2 separate regions of the Homo sapiens genome follow, and region 2 is linked to region 1. The links are contacts of gene promoters, found by promoter capture Hi-C in human tissues and cell types (Jung and others, 2019). All regions are on one chromosome and are shown on one strand. The core of a region is centred on a gene start or on the middle of the fragment in contact, and the rest is flanking DNA. Distances in the headings are between cores, read along the strand shown.

What was found. Contacts are between HindIII fragments. The study calls those that stand out against the background at their distance.
Region 2: a contact is called between a fragment that was not itself captured here and the fragment with the promoter of IL36A in region 1, in 1 of the 25 tissues and cell types used here (aorta).

Annotation. Positions count from the first base shown.
Region 1 is chr2:113,003,101-113,006,889 of GRCh38, forward strand. IL36A (interleukin 36 alpha) reads left to right here and starts at 2,359. Exons shown (of 4, transcript NM_014440.3): 1 at 2,359-2,781; 2 at 2,874-2,987; 3 at 3,498-3,637. The coding sequence starts at 2,772. The HindIII fragment of the contact is 9,440 bases long and covers 1-3,789 here.
Region 2 is chr2:113,061,512-113,065,312 of GRCh38, forward strand. IL36RN (interleukin 36 receptor antagonist) reads left to right here. Exons shown (of 5, transcript NM_012275.3): 4 at 613-740; 5 at 942-3,233. The coding sequence ends at 1,166. Among named protein-coding and RNA genes, the nearest start is that of IL36RN, 4.2 kb to the left of the region's middle. The HindIII fragment of the contact is 6,121 bases long and covers 1-3,801 here.

The DNA of each region.
Region 1 (3,789 bases), core at 1,109-3,608:
TTTTGAATGCACATCTTTTGAATACAAGTATTTTGCTTTCAAACACCAAACTACTGTGTTAGTTTGGGTTCTCCCCAAGGCAGATCCTGGATGCAGGGAGCTCATTCAGGGGATTATTCCAGGAGATCCAATAGAGAAAATGCTAGTGATCTTGTTACTATTATGGGGCAACTCTGAGAAACCTTAGTGTTATCGTATCAGAGGATGGGGTGGCTGAACATTTGTCTACCAGTTTCTTTCACCACTTACTGAAGTTGCCCCTGAGATGGAAGCCCTAGAGGTGTGAAGCTGACAGATGCTAGGATCTCCAACAGCAGTTGTGAACTCAGGTTGTTGAAGGTATGGAGCAGAGCATCAACAGTATTACCTCAGCTTCCTTTTAGTGTAGACCTAATGTCAGGTACTGCGAGCTCAGAGCACTGGGGCCTCTGGCAGCCAGGCTTCCTTTCCTGCTGTATTAGTCAGGAGCCTCCAGAGAGATAGAATCATTAGGATGTGTGTTTATGCACACAAACACAGACACACATACAGAATCGGCACTTTGTATCTGCAGGTTCAACCAACCAGCATTGAGGGATGCTGAGCCTGTGGATGAAGAGGGCTGACTTTTTGTATAAGTGGGTTCTGCAGGGTCAACTGACAAACTTGTGTAGAGACAGGGTTTTGCTGTGTTGGCCAGGCTGGTCTTGAACTCCTGACCTCAGGTGATCTGCCTGCCTCGGCCTCCCAAAGTTCTGGGATTACAGACATGAGCCATTGTGCTTCAACTTTAAGTTTTTTAGTCATAATTGTGTAAGCTGAACCAATTAAGATGTCTATGATATTGGCTATCATTTCTGCTGTTAATATTCAGTCCTCTTCAACTAGGGCACAAAAAGATTAGTTTTTTCCTTGCAAAGTGATGTGGATGGTCTGCTGCTGCAGGTGCTATTTTCAATATTGTCTCACTTCTTAAAATGAGTTATCCATTGTAAACTGCTGATTTCTTTGGGTCATTGTCCCCACAAACTTTTTATAAGCCATCAATGATTTCACCATTCTTCCACCCAAGTTTCACCATAAATTTGATTTTTGTTCTTGCTTCAATTTTAGAAGAATTCATGTTGATCTTATAGGGGCTCTTTTCAAACTGATGTCTTACCTTTCTTAGTGCCTCAAACTAGATCCTGTTCAAACACCTTATAACAAGTTAGTAGGAGTTTATTTTGGTGCAAAATAATTCAAAATCCATGCATAGTTTTTTTCATAATATGCATTTTCCATGAACTTTTTGATGACCTCTTGTATGAAAGGGGATTTATTAGGGGAATGAACTCATGCAATTTTGGAGGCTGAGAAATCCCATGACAGACCACCTGCAAGCTGGAGACCCTGGGATGCAGGTAACATGCTCAGTTCAAGTCCTAAAGCCTCAGAACTAGGAAGCCACTGGTGTAATTCTCACTTTGGGATAGAAAGCCTGAGAACCCAGGGAGATGCTGATATTAAGTCCTGGAGTCCAAAGTCTGGAGTTATAATGTCCAAAGGCAGGAGAGAATGCCCCAGCTCCAGGAGAGACAGAAAATCACCTTTTCTCTGTCTTTTCCATGCCATCCATGCCCCCGGCCAGTTGGATGGATCCCACCTACGTTGAGGGTAGATGTTCCCCACTAGTACACTGACTTACACACCAATCTTCTTTGGAAACACCCTCATAGACTTACCCCAAACTAATGTATTACCAGTTCTTTAAGTATTCCTTAAACCAGTCAAATTGACACTTAAAATTTACTATCACGCTACCTATACTAGAGATAGTGATCTAGAGTCCATTGAGGTGGCTAGAGTGCTCAGGAGCTGGCTTTGCTACAGTAATACTCCCTTCTTCCATGGAGAAGCAGCATGCACAGTGGCTCTGAGAAGCTGGAGGAGGGTCACTGGAGTGAGTGGGCTTCTGGTCTGAAATTGACCAAGAATATAGTTCCTGTGGACCAGGAGTGATTAGAAGCTACAGAGGTCTTAAGAGACCTATCCCTCCTCAGTCTACCTTGCACTTACTGAGGGCTCCCACTCTTAGGAATAATTCCATCGTTTCATTTTGTGGCATCAGAGATGAGTCATTGACCCGGAAGAAGTCCCGTAATGTTTCTCAACTCAGTATCTGTGACTATATTTCCTGCTCTTAAAAGTTTAGCATGCCCTCATGTTTCAGGTTGCTTGGAGAAGTCTTAACCATGCTGTTCACATAAAGAGTCACTAAATCCTCTGGCATCAGGAACTAGAAAATATCCTGAGTGTTGGGCAGTGCCAGACTTAGTGAGGCAGAACTTCCTTCCTTGCCCATGTGGATAAAAGGCCTGGGCCCTGTTACAGCCTGTCAGAAAACCCAAGTGCAGTAGAAGCCATTGTTCATAATGGTAGGGATACAGGGTCCTTCGTAACAGATTATCAGTGTGGCCTATGCTGGAAAGTCTGGTGACCTCTGATTTTTTTTGCTTCCAGGTCTTTGGCCTTGGCACTCTTTGTCATATTAGAGTTCCTGGGTCTAGGCCTGGGCAGGATTCATAGGTGCAGCTGCTTCTGCTGGAGGTAGACTGCATCCAACAAAGTAAGGGTGCTGGGTGAGTTCTGGGAGTATAGATTCTGACTGGGGTCACTGCTGGGCTGGCCGCCAGTCTTTCATCTGACCCAGGGTTAAACTGTGGCTTGGGACTGACTCAGGTCCTCTCTTGGGGTCGGTCTGCACATAAAAGGACTCCTATCCTTGGCAGTTCTGAAACAACACCACCACAATGGAAAAAGGTAAAGATCCTCGTGGAAGGGCGAAAAATTGACAAGGGGGTGATATTCTGTGCTCTCATTCTTACTAATTTACATTTTGACTTTCTCAACAGCATTGAAAATTGACACACCTCAGCAGGGGAGCATTCAGGATATCAATCATCGGGTGTGGGTTCTTCAGGACCAGACGCTCATAGCAGTCCCGAGGAAGGACCGTATGTCTCCAGGTGAGTAGCCACGGTCTGTGAAAGGCAGCTCCTTTGGCCAGTGCTGTTGTGTGTTTGGTGCTCAGATGTTATTCCACAGTGGGCTTGTTAACCGGGCATATCTACAGAGAGGAGCATCTCACAGACAATAATGAATAGAGGGTGAGCATAAGGTTGTTCTGGGACTATGGTCATGAAGTCAGAGAAGAGAGAGAAGGCTTAAGGGAGACTGAAGGGTCAGCCTATGAAAAACAGTGGAAGACGTATTCTGAGAAACTTCAAGGAGTAAGAGTAGGACAAAAGAGGGTAATCTATGGGAGGACCAGTTTTTGAATCCATGAAAGACTGACTTTTCTAATGGAAAGTGTTCCCCAAACATAGGATGGGTGTCCCGGTTAGGTGGTGGGTGGTGAGGTGACCATTCTATGAGTGCACTGTGAGTGTCAGTTAGCAGATTCCCTTAAAACTCTGGCTCAGAGGTACCACCCTGGAAATGGCAGCTGAACACCACTTTTCACATCGTGTTCCCAGTCACTATTGCCTTAATCTCATGCCGACATGTGGAGACCCTTGAGAAAGACAGAGGGAACCCCATCTACCTGGGCCTGAATGGACTCAATCTCTGCCTGATGTGTGCTAAAGTCGGGGACCAGCCCACACTGCAGCTGAAGGTGAGTGTGGAAGACAGGTCCTGCCATTTATTTGATGGAAACTCAGATTTCAGGATCTTTTAAAAGACAATGTACTTATTATGCTCATGCATTTTTATTTTTGGTTTCCTTGGGGTTGGTATATGTTATGAAAGACTAAGAAAAATTGCAGG
Region 2 (3,801 bases), core at 393-2,892, 58 kb after region 1:
CCATATGTGTATGTGTGTGCTTACTGGTGTATGTATGTGTGCATGCAGGCATATATGTGTGAGCATGTGTGCATGCATGTATCTGTGTGTAACCATGTATGTGTGAGTGCAGGTATGTAGGTATGAGCATGTGTGTGTATATGTATATGTGTGCATGCATGTATCTGTGTATGTATGTATCTGATGTATGTGGGTGGTGAGGGGATGTACAGAGAGGAATGAGACCCTCTTTTGCTCTCAGCAACATCACAGGGTGTAGAAAGTTGTCCAAACAATTCCAAAGGGGGGCTTATCAAGACAGGGTTCAGAAAAAGGCCTGAGACCCAAGGGACATTAAAGGAGGGGGTTGAATCTATTTTGGGGTGTAGAGGCTTGAAGATTTGACCCTGAACTAGAGGGTGGAGTGGAGGTGGTACAATGTGCTTCCATGCCTTGATGTCCACTCTGAGCCAGTGGACAGGAGAAGCCATGTCATGACAGCTGCTGAGAAGCCTCCCTTCTGCCCAGCCTGGGGGCAGGCCGTCTTACAGCAGTCCTGTGCCCTAGAGCCCAGGACAGGGGAAGAAGGAGGGAAAGGCATCCAGGGCCCTGCATCTGGCCTCTTTCCCACAGGTGAAGAGATCAGCGTGGTCCCCAATCGGTGGCTGGATGCCAGCCTGTCCCCCGTCATCCTGGGTGTCCAGGGTGGAAGCCAGTGCCTGTCATGTGGGGTGGGGCAGGAGCCGACTCTAACACTAGAGGTGAGACTTGGGGCATCCTCACTGGGGACTCAGCCACAGATGCTGAGCCTACTGAAGCCGGGCAGCCCACAGCCCTGGTGCTGTGGGACACCCTAGCAGGATTCTGTTGATGGCAGCTTTGCCTCCTCCCTAAGGATCCTGCCCAGCCCTCCCTCTGCCCCTGCTTCTGCCCTCACCTGACCTCCCCTCCTCTGCCGGCAGCCAGTGAACATCATGGAGCTCTATCTTGGTGCCAAGGAATCCAAGAGCTTCACCTTCTACCGGCGGGACATGGGGCTCACCTCCAGCTTCGAGTCGGCTGCCTACCCGGGCTGGTTCCTGTGCACGGTGCCTGAAGCCGATCAGCCTGTCAGACTCACCCAGCTTCCCGAGAATGGTGGCTGGAATGCCCCCATCACAGACTTCTACTTCCAGCAGTGTGACTAGGGCAACGTGCCCCCCAGAACTCCCTGGGCAGAGCCAGCTCGGGTGAGGGGTGAGTGGAGGAGACCCATGGCGGACAATCACTCTCTCTGCTCTCAGGACCCCCACGTCTGACTTAGTGGGCACCTGACCACTTTGTCTTCTGGTTCCCAGTTTGGATAAATTCTGAGATTTGGAGCTCAGTCCACGGTCCTCCCCCACTGGATGGTGCTACTGCTGTGGAATCTTGTAAAAACCATGTGGGGTAAACTGGGAATAACATGAAAAGATTTCTGTGGAGGTGGGGTGGGGGAGTGGTGGGAATCATTCCTGCTTAATGGTAACTGACCAGTGTTACCCTGAGCCCCGCAGGCCAACCCATCCCCAGTTGAGCCTTATAGGGTCAGTAGCTCTCCACATGAAGACCTGTCACTCACCACTATGCAGGAGAGGGAGGTGGTCATAGAGTCAGGGATCTATGGCCCTTGGCCCAGCCCCACCTCCTTCCCTTTAATCCTGCCACTGTCATATGCTACCTTTCCTATCTCTTCCCTCATCATCTTGTTGTGGGCATGAGGAGGTGCTGATGTCAGAAGAAATGGCTCGAGCTCAGAAGATAAAAGATAAGTAGGGTATGCTGATCCTCTTTTAAAAACCCAAGATACAATCAAAATCCCAGATGCTGGTCTCTATTCCCATGAAAAAGTGCTCATGACATATTGAGAAGACCTACTTACAAAGTGGCATATATTGCAATTTATTTTAATTAAAAGATACCTATTTATATATTTCTTTATAGAAAAAAGTCTGGAAGAGTTTACTTCAATTGTAGCAATGTCAGGGTGGTGGCAGTATAGGTGATTTTTCTTTTAATTCTGTTAATTTACCTGTATTTCCTAATTTTTCTACAATGAAGATGAATTCCTTGTATAAAAATAAGAAAAGAAATTAATCTTGAGGTAAGCAGAGTAGACATCATCTCTGATTGTCCTCAGCCTCCACTTCCCCAGAGTAAATTCAAATTGAATCGAGCTCTGCTGCTCTGGTTGGTTGTAGTAGTGATCAGGAAACAGATCTCAGCAAAGCCACTGAGGAGGAGGCTGTGCTGAGTTTGTGTGGCTGGAATCTCTGGGTAAGGAACTTAAAGAACAAAAATCATCTGGTAATTCTTTCCTAGAAGGATCACAGCCCCTGGGATTCCAAGGCATTGGATCCAGTCTCTAAGAAGGCTGCTGTACTGGTTGAATTGTGTCCCCCTCAAATTCACATCCTTCTTGGAATCTCAGTCTGTGAGTTTATTTGGAGATAAGGTCTCTGCAGATGTAGTTAGTTAAGACAAGGTCATGCTGGATGAAGGTAGACCTAAATTCAATATGACTGGTTTCCTTGTATGAAAAGGAGAGGACACAGAGACAGAGGAGATGCGGGGAAGACTATGTAAAGATGAAGGCAGAGATCGGAGTTTTGCAGCCACAAGCTAAGAAACACCAAGGATTGTGGCAACCATCAGAAGCTTGGAAGAGGCAAAGAAGAATTCTTCCCTAGAGGCTTTAGAGGGATAACGGCTCTGCTGAAACCTTAATCTCAGACTTCCAGCCTCCTGAACGAAGAAAGAATAAATTTCGGCTGTTTTAAGCCACCAAGGATAATTGGTTACAGCAGCTCTAGGAAACTAATACAGCTGCTAAAATGATCCCTGTCTCCTCGTGTTTACATTCTGTGTGTGTCCCCTCCCACAATGTACCAAAGTTGTCTTTGTGACCAATAGAATATGGCAGAAGTGATGGCATGCCACTTCCAAGATTAGGTTATAAAAGACACTGCAGCTTCTACTTGAGCCCTCTCTCTCTGCCACCCACCGCCCCCAATCTATCTTGGCTCACTCGCTCTGGGGGAAGCTAGCTGCCATGCTATGAGCAGGCCTATAAAGAGACTTACGTGGTAAAAAATGAAGTCTCCTGCCCACAGCCACATTAGTGAACCTAGAAGCAGAGACTCTGTGAGATAATCGATGTTTGTTGTTTTAAGTTGCTCAGTTTTGGTCTAACTTGTTATGCAGCAATAGATAAATAATATGCAGAGAAAGAGAAACAAATGCATTTGTTTTATTATTGCAATTTTCTCCAATATTTTTTATTTTCTTTCTCACAATGAACAACTATCCTTCATTTACCCAAATATTCTATTTAAAAGCTAATAATACAGCATTTGTTGAGTCATCTGGTTCTGCAAGATTGAGATCCTCTTGTCCTATGTGCCAGGAATGAACTCCAGTGTCCCCACCCAAACCCTGGGGAATGGGAGCAGAAGCCAGAGGAGGAGCCCATATCTGAGCCCCAGGTATTCCACCTGCACTTCACCTGTTGGACCAGCTTGGTGGTTGAGAGTCCACTGAGGCACTGGCAAGGAGGTGGCCAGGACAGACAAGGCTGCCTCTATGGACCTCACAGCTCCAGCCCAGATTCAGCTGAAGTCCTCAGGCAACAGGCAGCACAGCTCCTACCCCAGGCCTCTCAGGGCTGCCAAGAACATGAGCTCCGGATGCTAGGCTGTGTTTCAGACCCTGTTCACACTCTCTTTGTCCATGGGCCCAGACACAGTCTTGTGCTGCTCCCTCTGCTTTTGGGTCCTCCATCCATCCTCTCTGCCTAGATAAATC